3 separate regions of the Homo sapiens genome follow, and regions 2 and 3 are each linked to region 1. Evidence: promoter capture Hi-C in human tissues and cell types (Jung and others, 2019). All regions are on one chromosome and are shown on one strand. The core of a region is centred on a gene start or on the middle of the fragment in contact, and the rest is flanking DNA. Distances in the headings are between cores, read along the strand shown.

What was found. The method cuts DNA at HindIII sites, captures the fragments that hold promoters and counts their contacts. A contact is called where the count stands out against the background at its distance.
Region 2: a contact is called between a fragment that was not itself captured here and the fragment with the promoter of ANKRD11 in region 1, in 1 of the 25 tissues and cell types used here (lymphoblastoid cells).
Region 3: a fragment that was not itself captured here is called in contact with the fragment with the promoter of ANKRD11 in region 1 in 6 of the 25 tissues and cell types used here (H1 embryonic stem cells, IMR-90 fibroblasts, dorsolateral prefrontal cortex and 3 more).

What each region holds. Positions count from the first base shown.
Region 1 is chr16:89,488,387-89,493,456 of GRCh38, reverse strand. It overlaps ANKRD11 (ankyrin repeat domain containing 11), which reads left to right and starts at 2,896. Exons shown (of 13, transcript NM_013275.6): 1 at 2,896-3,212. It overlaps LOC101930112 (a long non-coding RNA gene), which reads right to left and starts at 2,487. Exons shown (of 2, transcript XR_933895.4): 1 at 2,071-2,487. LOC101927863 (a long non-coding RNA gene) reads left to right here. Exons shown (of 5, transcript NR_188547.1): 5 at 824-1,054. RefSeq lists silencers at 2,177-2,226, 2,347-2,436, 2,637-3,116, 3,691-3,740, 3,821-3,930 and 1 more and enhancers at 3,322-3,836, 3,837-4,350, 4,940-5,009. The HindIII fragment of the contact is 15,043 bases long and covers 1-5,070 here.
Region 2 is chr16:89,688,537-89,692,320 of GRCh38, reverse strand. CDK10 (cyclin dependent kinase 10) reads right to left here. Exons shown (of 13, transcript NM_052988.5): 2 at 2,997-3,069; 3 at 1,697-1,768; 4 at 776-878; 5 at 434-515. Among named protein-coding and RNA genes, the nearest start is that of LINC02166, 3.5 kb to the right of the region's middle. The HindIII fragment of the contact is 5,257 bases long and covers 1-3,784 here.
Region 3 is chr16:89,349,998-89,355,067 of GRCh38, reverse strand. All of the region lies in intron 2 of ANKRD11 (ankyrin repeat domain containing 11), which reads left to right. All of the region lies in intron 1 of LOC128462377, which reads left to right. Among named protein-coding and RNA genes, the nearest start is that of ZNF778, 130 kb to the right of the region's middle. The HindIII fragment of the contact is 8,829 bases long and covers 1-5,070 here.

The DNA of each region.
Region 1 (5,070 bases), core at 1,647-4,146:
GCTTACCTTTTTCCTCAGGATAAAATCCCAACTCCTTTTTTTTTTTGAGATGGAGTCTCGCTCTGTTGCCCAGGCTGGAGTGCAATGGCGTGATCTCGGCTCACTGCAGCCTCTGCCTCCCGGATTCAAGTGATTCTCCTGCCTCAGCCTCCGGAGTAGCTGGGATTACAGGCGCACGCCACCACGCCCGGCTAATTTTTGTATTTTTAGTAGAGACGGGGTTTCACCATGTTGGCCAGGCTGGTCTCAAACTCCTGACCTCAAGTGATCTGCCTGCCTTGGCCTCCCAAAGTGCTGGGATTACAGGCGTGAGCCACTGCACCTCACCTCAAAGATTTTCTCTTTTTCTTGAGACGAAGTCTCATTCTGTCGCCCAGGCTGGAGCGCAGTGGCGCGATCTCGGCTCACTGCAACCTCCGCCTCCCGAGTTCAAGAGATTCTCCTGCCTCAGCCTCCTGAGCAGCTGGGACTACAGGCACCCGCCACCACCACACCCAGCTAATTTTTGCATATTTTTAGTAGAGATGGGGTTTCACCATATTGGCCAGACTGGTCTCGAACTCCTGATCTCATGATTCACCCGCCTCGGCCTCCCAAAGTGCTGGGATTACAGGCATAAGACACCGCGCCTGGCCAAGATTTTCTAATTAGTGCATTTCCTGGCTCCTTTCCCTTTACTCTGCATTTCTTTTCTCTACCATACACGTTCTACTTCTGTCGAAATTCAGTTTGCTTTTACCTTAGTGTATTTTCAGATTCTGTTTCGAAGGCCAACTGCCTGCTTACTCATATTAATATTTTGCACTTTAAATTCCCCTGATAGATGAGCATGGTGGTGCAGGCCTGTAATCTCAGCTCCTCAGGCGGGAGGATCACTTGATCCCCGGAAGTTTGAAGCTGGACTGCGCTGACCGCACCTGTGAATACCACTGCCCGTCAATCAGCCTAGGGGAAACATTCTCGAGTGCGAGCATGACGGCTTAGGTTGATGTTTTTCAAATTTTCCCAATGATGAGTATTGTAAGGGACCAAAATAAAAAAATGCCAATGCCTAGTCCCCTCTCATCTAGAATAATTCCATAGGTGATGATGGGGTCCAGGACTCTGAATTTCGTCAATTTTACCAAATACTTCGTCCAGTGAGGCAAATATGGAAACACTTGGATCACCTCTTCGTGAACGCACATCAGCGCATACGCCGGCTGTTTTTATCAGGCGCTCACCCCTCATCCAATGGCGTGACTAGTTGTGGGTGGAGCCCGAAATCTGGCTGCCTAGAGAAGGCTGAAGGTCCAGTTATAGCATAACTAATGTTTCCCCAGAGCTCACATACGTGCCAAGCACCGTGCTACAGCCTCCACAGCCCCTTCATTTAATCTTCCCGATGGGCCTATGAAATAGGTGCTCCTGGCCCGCACCGTGGCTCATGCCTCTAATCCCAGCACTTTGGGAAGCTGAGGAGGGAGGGTCGCTTGAGTCCAGGATTTCAAGACCAGCCTGGGAAACACACAGAGAGCCTATCTCTACGAAAATTTAAAAAATTAGCCGGGTGTGGTGATGCCTGACTGTGGTCCCACCTACTTAGTAGGCTAAGGTGGGAGGATCCTCTGAGCCCGGGAAGCTGAGGCTGCAGTTAGCACTGCACTCCAGCATGGGCGACAGAGTGAGACCCTGACTCAAAAAAAAAAAAAAAAAAGAATAGGTGCTACTTGTAGTTCCCATTTTACCCACCAAGAAACTGAAGATCTGAGAGACAAAGCCTACAGGGTGACCGCTAGTCACTGGTAGGGCTGGGATTTGAACAGGGGCGGTTTAACAACTGATCTCTCGACCATAATGCGTGTTGCCCAAGAAAAAAGACCGTCCTCACGGTCCTATCCACTCCGGACTTTGCAATTCCGTTATTTCGTAAATTGAGGCCTATAAATAGTTTGCTTACCCGTTGTCTTAGTCCCCAGTAACATGCAGAACTAAAGAAGAAACTGAAGGAGCACCGATTTTGTTCACCTTGCTTTTTGGTTTAGTTCTGGAGGAGAACACAGGTGCACTTAGAACAGGATCCACACTTACCAGAGGCTTGATTCATTTTAGCTGCAAAGAAAACCAGTCCTCGTCTACCTTTTTCGCGTGTTGGAGAACTAACTAGCAAGGCAGGGAATGCGGTTCGTGGGCGCTTGGCCTCCTCAAGCGGCTCAGGCTCTCAGAGCGCGAGGCCCAGGGGCTCTGGAGCCGCGGCCGCGACGCGCCCGAGGGCCGTTCTCTTCGACGGCAGAGCAAGAGTCACCGCGCGGGAGCCCCGAGCGACCGCCCCGCTGCCCCGGTACCCTCCCCTCGCAGCCGCCCAGAGCTCTTCATGCCCCGTGACGCCCGTTAGGGCAGCGCGGCCGGAGGCCGGGCCGGACGTGGCCCGAGATGTCCGGGGGCAGGCAGAAGACCACGGGCACGCGACAGGCAACCGCCGCCTCGGCTCTAGAGGTGGACGTTTTGTCTCCCTGCGCTTCAATACCAGATTTTGTTTCCAGACGACATCCCTGTTGCTTCCGGCACTTGGAAAGACCAATCGTCAGGCCCGAGAATGCAAGACCCACCCTCCTTTGCGACGGAGGCAGCCAATCCAGTTGCTCGCTACTTCCAGTGTCGCATGCGCCCTTACGCAGGACCCTGCCCAATCGTTACCGGGACGTCCTCCTAGTCCCGCCTCCGGACCGCCAGAGAGGCTGTCAATCCCGCCTCTCTCCTTCACTCCATTAGCGCACTAACTCACGGCGCTGTGACGTGCACAGCCCCTGCGGCCGGCCGGGGCGGGCCAATGGCGGTGGCGGATACGGCGGGCCAATGGGCGGGAGCGTCTCATGCGGCCGGCTCCCGCCGCAGCCGCCGCTGGGTCCTGGAGCCAGAGGCCGCCCTGAGACGGTGCGCGATGGACCGAGGGCCCCAGCCGGGGAGGCGCCGCCGCCGAGCCCGCGGCCAGACGCCCCATCAGTAGCGTCCGCACCGGGAGCCGCGGCTCTCGCCCGAGCCGTGGGCGCGCCCGAGGGGCGGGCTCGCCTCCCGCCGTCCCTCGCAGCTCTGCCGGGCCCGAGCCCGCGCCGCCGCCGCCGCCGCCTTGCCGCTCGGGCCGCGCGGCCCGGGAAACGCGGCCGCGGGCTGCATGGGCAGCGCCCGCGCCCCGCCGCTGAGCCGTCGCGGAGCCGCGCAGCCCTCGGAGCACGGTGAGAGGCGCCGCTGGTCTGGGGGCGGTGGTCGGGGCGGGCACGGGGCATTCGCGCGGCCTTGCGGCCTGCAGGCCTTCCCCGGCGACGGAGCTGCGCCGCGGGCCTCCGGGCGGGCCTGGGGGGTCGGGGCCGGGTGGGCGGGGGTCTTTGGGGGCCCGGGGCGATCGTGAGGGACCAATAATGGGTCCCGGAGCGGGCCTACGGGTCCGGGTTCGGGGCAGCCGGGGGTCTTTGGGGGCCCGGGGTGGCCGTGAGGGGCCCATAGGGGGCTCCGGGGGGGGCCTGGGAGGTCGGCGGAGCTTGGGTCGGCCGTAAGGGGCGGACGGGGGCTCCGGGCGGGCCTGGGTGGCCGGGGGCCCGCGGCGGCTCTGAGGGGCCGATTGGGGGCTCCGGGGCGGGCCTGGGGGCCGTGGGGGCCCGGGGCGGCCGTGAGAGGCGGACAGGGGGCTCCGGGGCGGGCCTCGGGGGCTCGGAGCGGCCGTGAGGGGCGGACGGGGGGCTTCGGGGCGGGCCTGCAGGTCTTGGGGACCTGAGGCTGCCGGGAGGGGCTGCCAGGGGGCGCTGGCCGGGCGCCGGGTTCTGCGGAGCTGGGGCGCCGACCTCTGACCCGCGAGAGGGGCGCCTTCGCCGTGCTGGTCGTAGTTGTTATTCTCAGCGTCCCTATTATTATCGCTGTTTTGAAATGAGAGCAGGCGGCTCTCGGGCTCCGAGCCGGAGGGGGAGGGCGAACTGGGGACCTGGGGGCGTCGGGGTTGCAGGAGGCGCGCGTAGGCCGAGGAGGGGCAGGAATGCGGGCAGCCGTGTGGGGGGTGTTAGGGGGAGGGTAGGCGGGCGGGTGTGGGGGGTGGCTGGGAGGAAAGCGGTGGCGGTGGCGGCTGCAACAGCAGCCCTTGGCCTCAAGGAACAATGTGAGACGTTGCCTGAAATGTTAATTTCCGTTCCTCATTTCATCATCCCCTGGCAGGGCGGTAGCTGTGTGTGTGGTGTATGTGTGTGCGCGCGCGCGCGCGCGCGCGTGTGTGTGTGTGTGTAGGGTTGGCCCTGCCACATTGATTCAGTCCCCTCTCAAAGAGGGATTGTACTGTTAACTCTTGTGTTTGTGTTATTTGGGAAGGTTGGTCGGGGGGAGTCTTGATTTTTCTCGAGGCTTGCTCTTTTCCTGGTGCCCCATTAAGATTTTCTGCTTCTGTTGTGTTTTTGGAAGGTTAGTGTTATATATCAGCTTCCAAGAAGTTTTGGAAGAGGCTTGGGAAGATGAAGCTGGTCTAACAGCTCCCTATGCTTTGAAACTGTTTTCCTTCTATGTAACATGCTTAGGATTCATCGTTTTTGTAGATTATGAGTAGTTTTGTATCCTTTTGCAAGAACAGGGTTTTATGGTAGAGAAATTAGATTTCAGGCTTTCTTACATGAGGAGAGAGTTTTATGCAGTCATTAGAGCAATATCCTTAACACTTGAAATGAGAAATAAAAGTGTGCACAGTTGTTGAACTGCAAAACTTAGAGAATCTTTTGATCCTTTTTGGGATGTTGAGACTTAGCCAAACATATAAGATGATATTACCTGTGGAAAAAGTGCCATCGAAACAGTTACTGTTTTTGTTGTGTGCAGACCTAGTCTATGGCATAACGTTCAAAATCGGAGACCCTGAGGCTGTTTCTTTGGTTTCTCTGAGACCTTGATTTCTCTTAGTAAGTATTGGCTGCCCTGGAAGACTTCGAGTTCTGTTAGAGAATGATTACAGAAGTCCTCTGATTTTACTCTGCAACTGTAGTTAAACTAGAAAAAAAGGGGGGGGGGCGGATGTCTTGCTCAGCCTTCATTGTGACCCTTGCATTGGATCTCGTATAGTTG
Region 2 (3,784 bases), core at 1,242-3,741, 200 kb before region 1:
CTCTCGGCCCCGGGGCTGCACGCTCCCAGCAGCCCAGGAAACCAGTGCCCTCACAAGGCTCTTGGCCCCGGGGCTGCACTCTCCCAGCAGCCCAGAAAACCAGTGCCCTCAGAAGGCTCTCCGCCCAGGGCTCCCCGCTCCCAGCAGCCCAGGAAACCAGTGCCCTCAGAAGGCTCTCAGCCCCGGGGCTGCCTGCTCCCAACAGCCCAGGAAACCAGTGCCCTCATAAGGCTCTCGGCCCTGGGGCTGCCCGCTCCCAGCAGATGCCCCCACCACAGGAATTCCACCTCACTGAAGCTCGCTGAAACACTGGGAGGTGGAGGCAGAGGCAGCAGCAGCTCTTCAAGTCCCCAAGTGCCCTGTTTCGTTATAAATGTGCACCACAAGGGCCCATGAAGCCCATTCCCCCACCCCAGGCCCCTCTGCCACGCACCTGAGCCTCCGAGAAGGGTGTTGGCATATTCTCCAGGAGGCTGGCCAGGTCCTGCTCACAGTAACCCATCACCAGGAAGATGCTGGAAGAAACAGAAGATGCATGCCACTCTCCGGCCTTCTCCTAAGGGGTGGAAGTGGAGCCTCCCCTGCTGCAGGAGGGGACATGGGCAGGACAACCTGTGTCCCCCTCAGACAATGGGCTGAGCCAGGCGGTGAGGTGGGGTCATCTCTTCTCTGACAACCTCATGCCCAGTGACACTCAGTCCTCGCTCTGTGCAACACCTCTAGCCCAAGACACATGCTCCCTAGGGCCCAATGTGCAGACCAGGAGACCACGTACCTCTCCAGGTGGTTCCCCACAACCACCTCCTTCAGCTCCACGATGTTCGGATGACGCAGGCGGAGCAGCAGCGTGATCTCCCGCAAGCTGCTGATGGGGATGCCTGGGGAGGGAGGTGGCCTCAGCGAGCCCCACCCCAGTGATGGCGGGGAAGCCCCAACCCCAGCCACTCTTGGGCTTCACGAACACCTGATAGCAGGTGCTGCAGTGTCCCCACCTCAGGGAGAATTGGGGCGACCCCAATAAGCATTTTTTTTTTTTTGAGACGGAGTTTCGCTCGTTGCCCAGGCTGGAGTGCAATGGCACCATCTCGGCTCACCGCAACCTCTGCCTCCCGGGTTCAAGCAATTCTCCTGCCTCAGCCTCCCTAGTAGCTGGGATTACAGGCATGTGCCACCACGCCTGGCTAATTTTGTATTTTTAGTAGAGATGGGGTTTCTCCATGTTGGTCAGGCTGGTCTTGAACTGCCGACCTCAGGTGATCCGCCTGCCTCGGCCTCCCAAAGTGCTGGGATTACAGGCATGAGCCACCATGCCCGGCCCAATAAGCACTTTTAACTCTTCCTTGACCAAATACGAATCGGCACCTCTCTAAACACCGTGGACATCTATGTGGGGCATGGCAGGGCCCTGCCTGCACAGGCAGGTGCTGGGGGTGGAGGGGACAGCAGAGCTGAGCCTGCAGTGAGGTGGCCTCACCAGACAGGAGGGGGAGGAGGGGATGGAGACTGCAGAGCCCTCCTGGCAGACAGCTGAGGCTGCGTGTGGACCTGGGGGTGATGTGCTGGGCCACACCAGAACCCTCCCAGAGGCCGGCCCCCGCTACAAGCACCGTGCAGTCGCTCTGAGGAAACTTCAGGTAACTCACATCCTTCTGCCTCCTCCCAGTGCGAGGTCCCAACACCCCAATTTCCTGCTCACCATCCTTCTCCTTGTCCATCCGCACCTTCTTCAGTGCGACAATCTCATCTGTCTGGGTGTCCCGGGCCCGATCTGGAATGGAAACACATTGGTGATGACATCATCTCGATGCCCCTCGTGGGCTCCCTAGCGCTGAACGGGAGGCTCTCCCTGAGCCACAGGGGTCCCCGTTCTTTCCTCTGACAACCTCATGCCCAGTGACACTCAGTCCCCACTCTGTGCAACGCCCCTAGCCCGAGACGCGTTCCCCCGGAGGGTTTCCTCATTTGAACTGGGCAGGGGGTGCCCAACTTTGCTCTGTGCTGGACCCTGGCCTCCAGCCACTCAGTTCTGTGGCTCCAGGCTCTCCATGTCCTCCTTAGCATGCAGATCACTGCTTTGTGCTCTCTTGTAATGTCCTAAAAGCAAATAAGGTACTCTATGCAGAAAAAAGCAAACCTTATTTTGTGTGAAGATGGCTCTACAAAACATCCTGCTAATGTGTGCAGCTTCCAGAATGACCTACGCCAATTTCACATCTGTTATAACCTTTAGTTGTGTGTGGTGTTTTTGGTTTTTTTGAGACAGGGTCTCACTCTGTTGCCAAGGCTGGGGTGCAGTGGCGTGATCACAGCTCACTGCAGCCTCAAACTCCTAGGCTTGGCCGGGTGCAGTGGCTCACACCTGTAATCCCAGTGCTTTGGGAGGCCGAGGCAGGAGGATCATTTGAGCCCAGAAGTTCAAGACCAGCCTGGGCAACATAGGGAGATCCCATCTCTACCAAAAATTTAAAAATTAGCTGGGTGTGCTTATGTACTCTTGTGGTCCCAGATACTCAGGAGGCTGAGGTGGGAGGATCACTTGAGCCTAGGAGGTCGAGGCCGCAGTGAGCTATGATCATGCCACTGCACTCCAGTCTGGGCAATAGAGCAAGACCCATCTCAAAAACAAACAAAAAGAAAAAACACCTGGGCTCAGGTGACTCCTCCAGAGTTGCTGAGGTGATAGACATGAGCACCATGTCCAGCTCCTGCTGCTTCTGGAAAGTTCTGTATTTTATTTCTCTAACAGTTCTGTGTACTCTGCAGTGACACGTTTGGATTATGGGCATTAGCAACCGGATGCTTACGTTTACCCAGAAATGGTACAATGTTTGTGATAACTACATCAGGAATTGAAGTTCCTGAACAGGTTTCTGCCCTGTTTCAGAGCACAGGGTCTGAGTCCCTTCCAGCCCCAACGCGGCTGCTGCTTCGACAGTCTCGTCCCACACTGTCACAGCCACGAGCTGCGGCCACATGTCCTAGCCTTGGCCACTCACACACAATGCCGTAGGTACCCTCTCCAATGCGGTTCAGCTTCTCAAACTCCTTCACACTCCGGCATCGTCCCAGCTGAAACAGAAGGGTGTTGCCAGTGTGGAAATTTGGCAGCTGATGGAACAACTGAGGAAATTTCAAATGGAATTTGTACCAGGGAGCCCACTCACGTCTTGCTCACCAAACAGAAAGGCAACCACACGTTTGGGCTTTTTTTTTCTTTTTTTGAGACTGAGTCTCGCTCTGTTGCCCAGGCTGGAGTGCAGTGGCAAGAACATGGTTCACTGCAACCTCCGCCTCCTGGGTTCAAGTGATTCTCCGGCCTCAGCCTCCTGAGTAGCTGGGATTACAGGCAGGTGCCACCACAACCGCCTAATTTTCTATTTTTAGTAGAGACTGGGTTTCACCATGTTGGCCAGGCTGGTCTTGAGCTCCTGACCTCAAGTGATCTGCCCGCCTTGGCCTCCCAAAGTGCTGGGATTACAAGCGTGAGCCACCGTACCCGGCCTCTTGGGCTTTTCTGATGAGAAAAGGTGGTGACGATACTGGGCCAATGCTTTGAAAGAAATATCAGAGGCGGCCACTCAGATACTCCCTTTCAATCCCACATACAAAAATACATCTGTGGCAGAGGCTGCTGTCCCAGCATCCCTGTATCACTACCTCCTGGAAGTTATGAAACGCTACCCAGTGGCATCTGGCCTTGGAATGTGAGCTGAAGGGACCGTGTGACTTCCAGGTGAAAGGAAGCTTTCACCTCTTCTCACCTCAGTGACGGGAAGAAAAAATG
Region 3 (5,070 bases), core at 1,576-4,075, 140 kb after region 1:
TTAGATGAAAGCAAACATGTTGTTCTGGCGTTTCCTTCCTGCATCTGGTGGGTCTTCAGCATGTGAATCTGTGCATTTCCTGGGACTTGGAAAGTCTGTTGCCCTCACTCCTTTGGGGGCATTTTCTTTGCCAAAGGAGCTAGAAGAACGAGCTTCCAGGCCACTCACAGCCTTTGTTTGTTTGAGAGTGTCTCACTCTGTCTCCCAGGCTGGAGTGCAGAGGTGTGATCTCGGCTCACTGCAACCTCCGCCTCCTGGGTTCAAGCGATTTCTCCTGCCTCAGCCTCCCTTATGAGTAGCTGGGATTACAGGTGCTCGCCACCATGCCCGGCTAATTTCTGTATTTTTAGTAGAGACGTGGTTTCACCGTGTTAGCCAGGCTGGTCTTGAACTCCTGACTTCAGGTGATTCACCTGCCTCGGCCTCCCAAAGTGCTGGGATTACAAGAGTGAGCCACCGTGCCCTGCCAGCTTTTGTATTTAAAGCATGCTTTGATGACACACAATCAAATCTCTTGAGTATTCCAGCCTAGAAGTGCCCTCCCTATCAAGAGCAGGTGCTGGGCACGCTGCCCTCTGCCCTCTGTGACATTTCCACTGGTGCAGGGAGGTGGGCTGGCTCTGCACTGCGCTGGCATAGTGGACCTCACTGCTGCAGTGTTGACTGTGTCAAGCACTTTTTATATTTGGGTATTTGTCTAATGTTAGTAAAATCATTTTTGAGACTTCAAAAAAGATTGACAGTGAGAAGGAAAAGGAGGCTTTTCAAATTCTAGGGTGAGATACAGTGTTTCAACATGAAGTTTTCTTTTTTTTTTTTTTTTTGGCTGAATGCAAAATTTAGTTATATATATGTAAAATTTGTGAAAATGCGTGCCTTGGAAGATTTGAATGGGTAAAGGTATACTTTCCTCCATCTGTGCAGTGCATTATTTAGAAGCAGTGGAGTGACCTTGCAGGCGGCACCTGAGGGAGTGCCAGGCATGGGACTGTTGGGCGGGCAGCTCCCGAGAGCCCTGCAGGGCTGGGTGCTCTGGCTCCCATCAATTATTTACAGACTTGGGGCATTCAGCTGGGCTGGTTCACAAGGCTGGAAGCCAGCTCCGCCTTTATGTCTCCATCTCTGCCCGCCGCCCCTCACCCTGTGGCAGACATGCCCCACGCTCCCTGCATGAGAGGCTGCAGAGGCTGCTCTGTCTTGTTTCGGGTGTCTCAGGGCTGATGTGTGTTGTGTTCCCATAGTGGCTGTTGATCATGAAAAACATTATGTTCCATAAGATATGTGACCAGTTCGGGCGTAGTGGCTCACGCCTGTAATCCCAGCACTTTGGGAGGCCCAGGCAGGCGGATCAGCTGAGGTCAGGAGTTCGAAACCAGCCTGGCCAACATGATGAAACCCTGTCTCTACTAAAAATACAAAGAAATTAGGCAAGCGTGGTTGTGCATGCCTGTAATCCCAGCTACTAGGGAGGCTGAGGCAGGAGAATTGCTTGAACCCGGAAGGCGGAGGTTGCAGTGAGCCGAGATTGCACCACTGTACTCCAGCCTGGGTGACACAGTAAGACTCTGTCTCAAAAAAATGAAAAAGTGACCAGTTCCTTGTAGTTGCCTTGGACTGGTGTTCCTCTTACTGCTGGTATTTCCAGCTCTACTTTTGAGATCCTCTGGAGAAATAAATAGAAACTTTGTTTACTTTCTCTCTCTCTCTCTCTCTCTCTTTTTTTTTGGAGTTGGAGTCTCACTCTGTCACCCAGGCTGGAGTGCAGTGGCGCCATCTTGGCTCACTGCAACCTCCGCCTCCTGAGTTGAAGCAATTCTCCTGCCTCAGCCTCCTGAGTAGCTGGGATTATAGGCGTCTGCCACCATGCACGGCTAATTTTTGTATTTTTAGTAGAGACGGGGTTTCACCATATTGGCCAGGCTGGTCTTGAACTCCTGACCTCATGATCCACCTGCCTTGGCCTCCCAAAGTGCTGGGATTAATTACAGGCGTGAGCCACCGCGCCCAGCCCTACTTTCTCTTGTTATAATTTTAACTCAGTGTTAGGGTGAAGTAAATGGATCCTGTAAAGTTAATATATTCAAGGTTTAATGTTTTCCATAAACTTTTCTGAAGTATGTTTGTTTTAAAATAATTTTGTTGTAGTGACCCCCTTTGCTTAAACATGCCGTGAAGTAGAACAAGCCGTGAGAGAAAAGAGGGAAAGGACAAGATGCTGACAAAGCAGGTAGGGGCCCTGCTTGGGGGCCCATGTGGTCATCTTGAAGGAGGGCAGCAGCACATAGGAAACGCACTCAAGAATCTGCCTGGCTGAGCACACACATTTTCAGAGGCAAGCGGGACTCACCCAGCTGAGGCTTCAATAAACTGGTGAATTGGGTGGAGAAGGGCCAGGCACAGAACACTTTGGTGCTGATGAGTGGAGCGGACAGAGCTTTTACCCTTCAAAGATCTACCACAGTGTGTGTGAGATCTGGATGGGCCAGGGCGAGAGGAAGTGGCCCTGACAGGGGCCTCACTCTTGGGGGCAGGGCTCGCTCACTGTGTTGAGCTTGCCAGAAGCTCTGAAGGGTGTGAGCCTTGAAGATCTGCCCTGACATTCCTCTGTGCCCAGCATCAGCAAGTGCCCTCCTGCCACTGACCTGAGAGCAGGAGGGCGTCACTGTGGCCTTCTGCTTGGTTTTCTTGGGGGGCTGCCTTGAGACATTGCGGTGCCTAGACCCCTGGCTTCTTGACTTGCCTTCCCCCAGGGCTCTGCACCGCGTGGCGTGATGCATACCTGGCCACTGTGAGATCCAGTCCTTAGGACAAGTCTTGTCTCGTGTCCAGCATTCCATCCCTAGGGAAACGTGTCTCATGCTTTTCAAAGAAGATAATCGGCCAGGTGCAATGGCTCACGCCTGTGATCCCAGCATTTGGGAGGCTGAGGCAGGCGGATCACTTGAGGTCAGGAGTTTGAGACCAATCTGACCAACATGTTGAAACCCCCGCCTCTACACAAATTACCTGGGCCTGGTGGCTTGTGCCTGTCATTTCAGCGGAGGCGTGAGAATTGCTTGAACCTGGGAGGCAGAGATTGCAGTGAGCCACGATCGCACCACTGCACTCCATCCTGGGCGACAGAGTGAGACTGTCTCCAAAAAAGAGATAATACCAGCTTGATTGAGAGGATTGACAGACCGTAGGCTTACCCAGATAAAGCGCACAGTTCAAAGGTTGTTAGTGTATTCACGGGTCTGTTCAACCACCAGGACTGTCAGTTCTAGAACATTGCTGTCACCTCAGAAAGAAACTTGGACCTTTAATCGTCACTCCTTGTTCCCCCTGCAGCCTCTGCGTCCTCTCTGAGTCTGCTGTTCTGGTCATTTTGTGTCCATGGAATTGCATGCTGTGTGGCATGACACGAACCTGCGCCCAGGTCACAGGGCCTATGTCTGCAGTGCCCACAGCAGCATTGCCTCAATGCCAAACACAGAGAGAAGCTTCGTCTCCATGCCTTAACTTACAGACCTGCCCGAGAGTCTGTATCCAGTGTTTTCTTGAAAAAGTTCGCTAGGATCCTCTTTGAATACGTATATTTATGAAATGAGAATCAGTTATTTGGTGTAGTGGGTAATGAATGCCTGGAGTGATTTGCGGAGGTAGTGGAGGGTGTGTGGTGAAGTCAGCCACCTGCTCAGTATCAAGGACAGCCTCATCCTGCTCCTGTTGGGATCTGGTCTTCCTTCCCTAGGGCCATGGATGCCATCCCCTTCAGGAATGTATTCTGCTTTTCCAGATGTGTTTGGCGGCCTGTGGGCGTGGGGTGATGGGCATTCAATTTCATTCTTTGCCGTGGAACCCCTCGCCCATGCCCACCACCAGCTGCCGCCGCCGCCTCTCTGCTTTTCTTCACAACAGTGCTCTTGACGAGCTCTTGTGCCCGCCATCGTCCACTCCCGTGCATTCTCTCTGAGAGCTTCTTTGAGGTACAGTTTAAATACTTTGGAATGCATCAATTTTAATAGCGGTCGGGGGATGCATCCTGAGAAATGCGTTGTTAGGTGATCTTGTCCTCTGAGCATCACAGAGTGTGCGTACCCAGATCCAGAAGGCAGAGCCTCCCACACACCTAAGCTACATGGTAGAGCCTGTTGCTGAGTCACCCTGCTGAATCGTGGAAAGAAATCGTAACACAGTGGTAGGTGTTTATGCCATGGGACCCGTTCCACTCCATTAGCATCTTATGGTAGCACATACCACCATCATGAATGTGGCCTGTTGACCACACTCAACATGAGCATCATGTTGCTCATGACTACAGATGTGAGAGTTTTAAGGAATCAGTTGGAACTGTCTTGTTCCCACCATCACAGTCATGATACAGAGTAGTATTTCCATCACCCCAAGAAAGTTCCCCCTTTCCTCTTTGCAGCAGCATGTCATCCTATTTCCTGGACCCAGGATGCTGATGTGCTTTCGGTCACTGTAGCTTTTGCTTTACTAGAATTTAATATGAATGGAATCATTGAGTGTGGACTCTTGTGTCTGGTGTGTTTCATCTTCCTTTTGAGATTGATCTGGGTTCTGTGGTGTATGTCAGTAGTTTACTGAGTAGCTTTTTAGGGGGTAGATATGTCGCATGTTCATCCAATAAGCAGTTATAGACATGTCCGTTGTTTCCTAGTTTTAGCTGTTGGGAGTCAAGCTGATATGAGTAGTTGCATGCAAAGCATCAGATGGCTGGATGTGGTACCTTTTCTGGGTCTGGGTTTCTCGGTCACATGTTACATGAATGTTTAACTTGTTAAGAACCTGCCAGACTCTTTTCCAAAGTGACCACTCAGTTTTGTGTTCCCACCAGCGTTGAATGGGAATTCCATCTGCTCTGTCCTTGCCGTTACATGGTGTAGTCCATCTTTTCCATTTTAGCCATTCTAGTGAATTGCGGTTTTAATTTCCAGTGCCCTAGTGACAAATGATGTTGCTTGTCTTTTCATGTGGCTTTTTTGGTGGGGGGAAGGGACTATCCATGTATTTGCTTTGGTGAAGCATGTGTCTTCACTTTCATATCTGCCATTTGCTCATTTC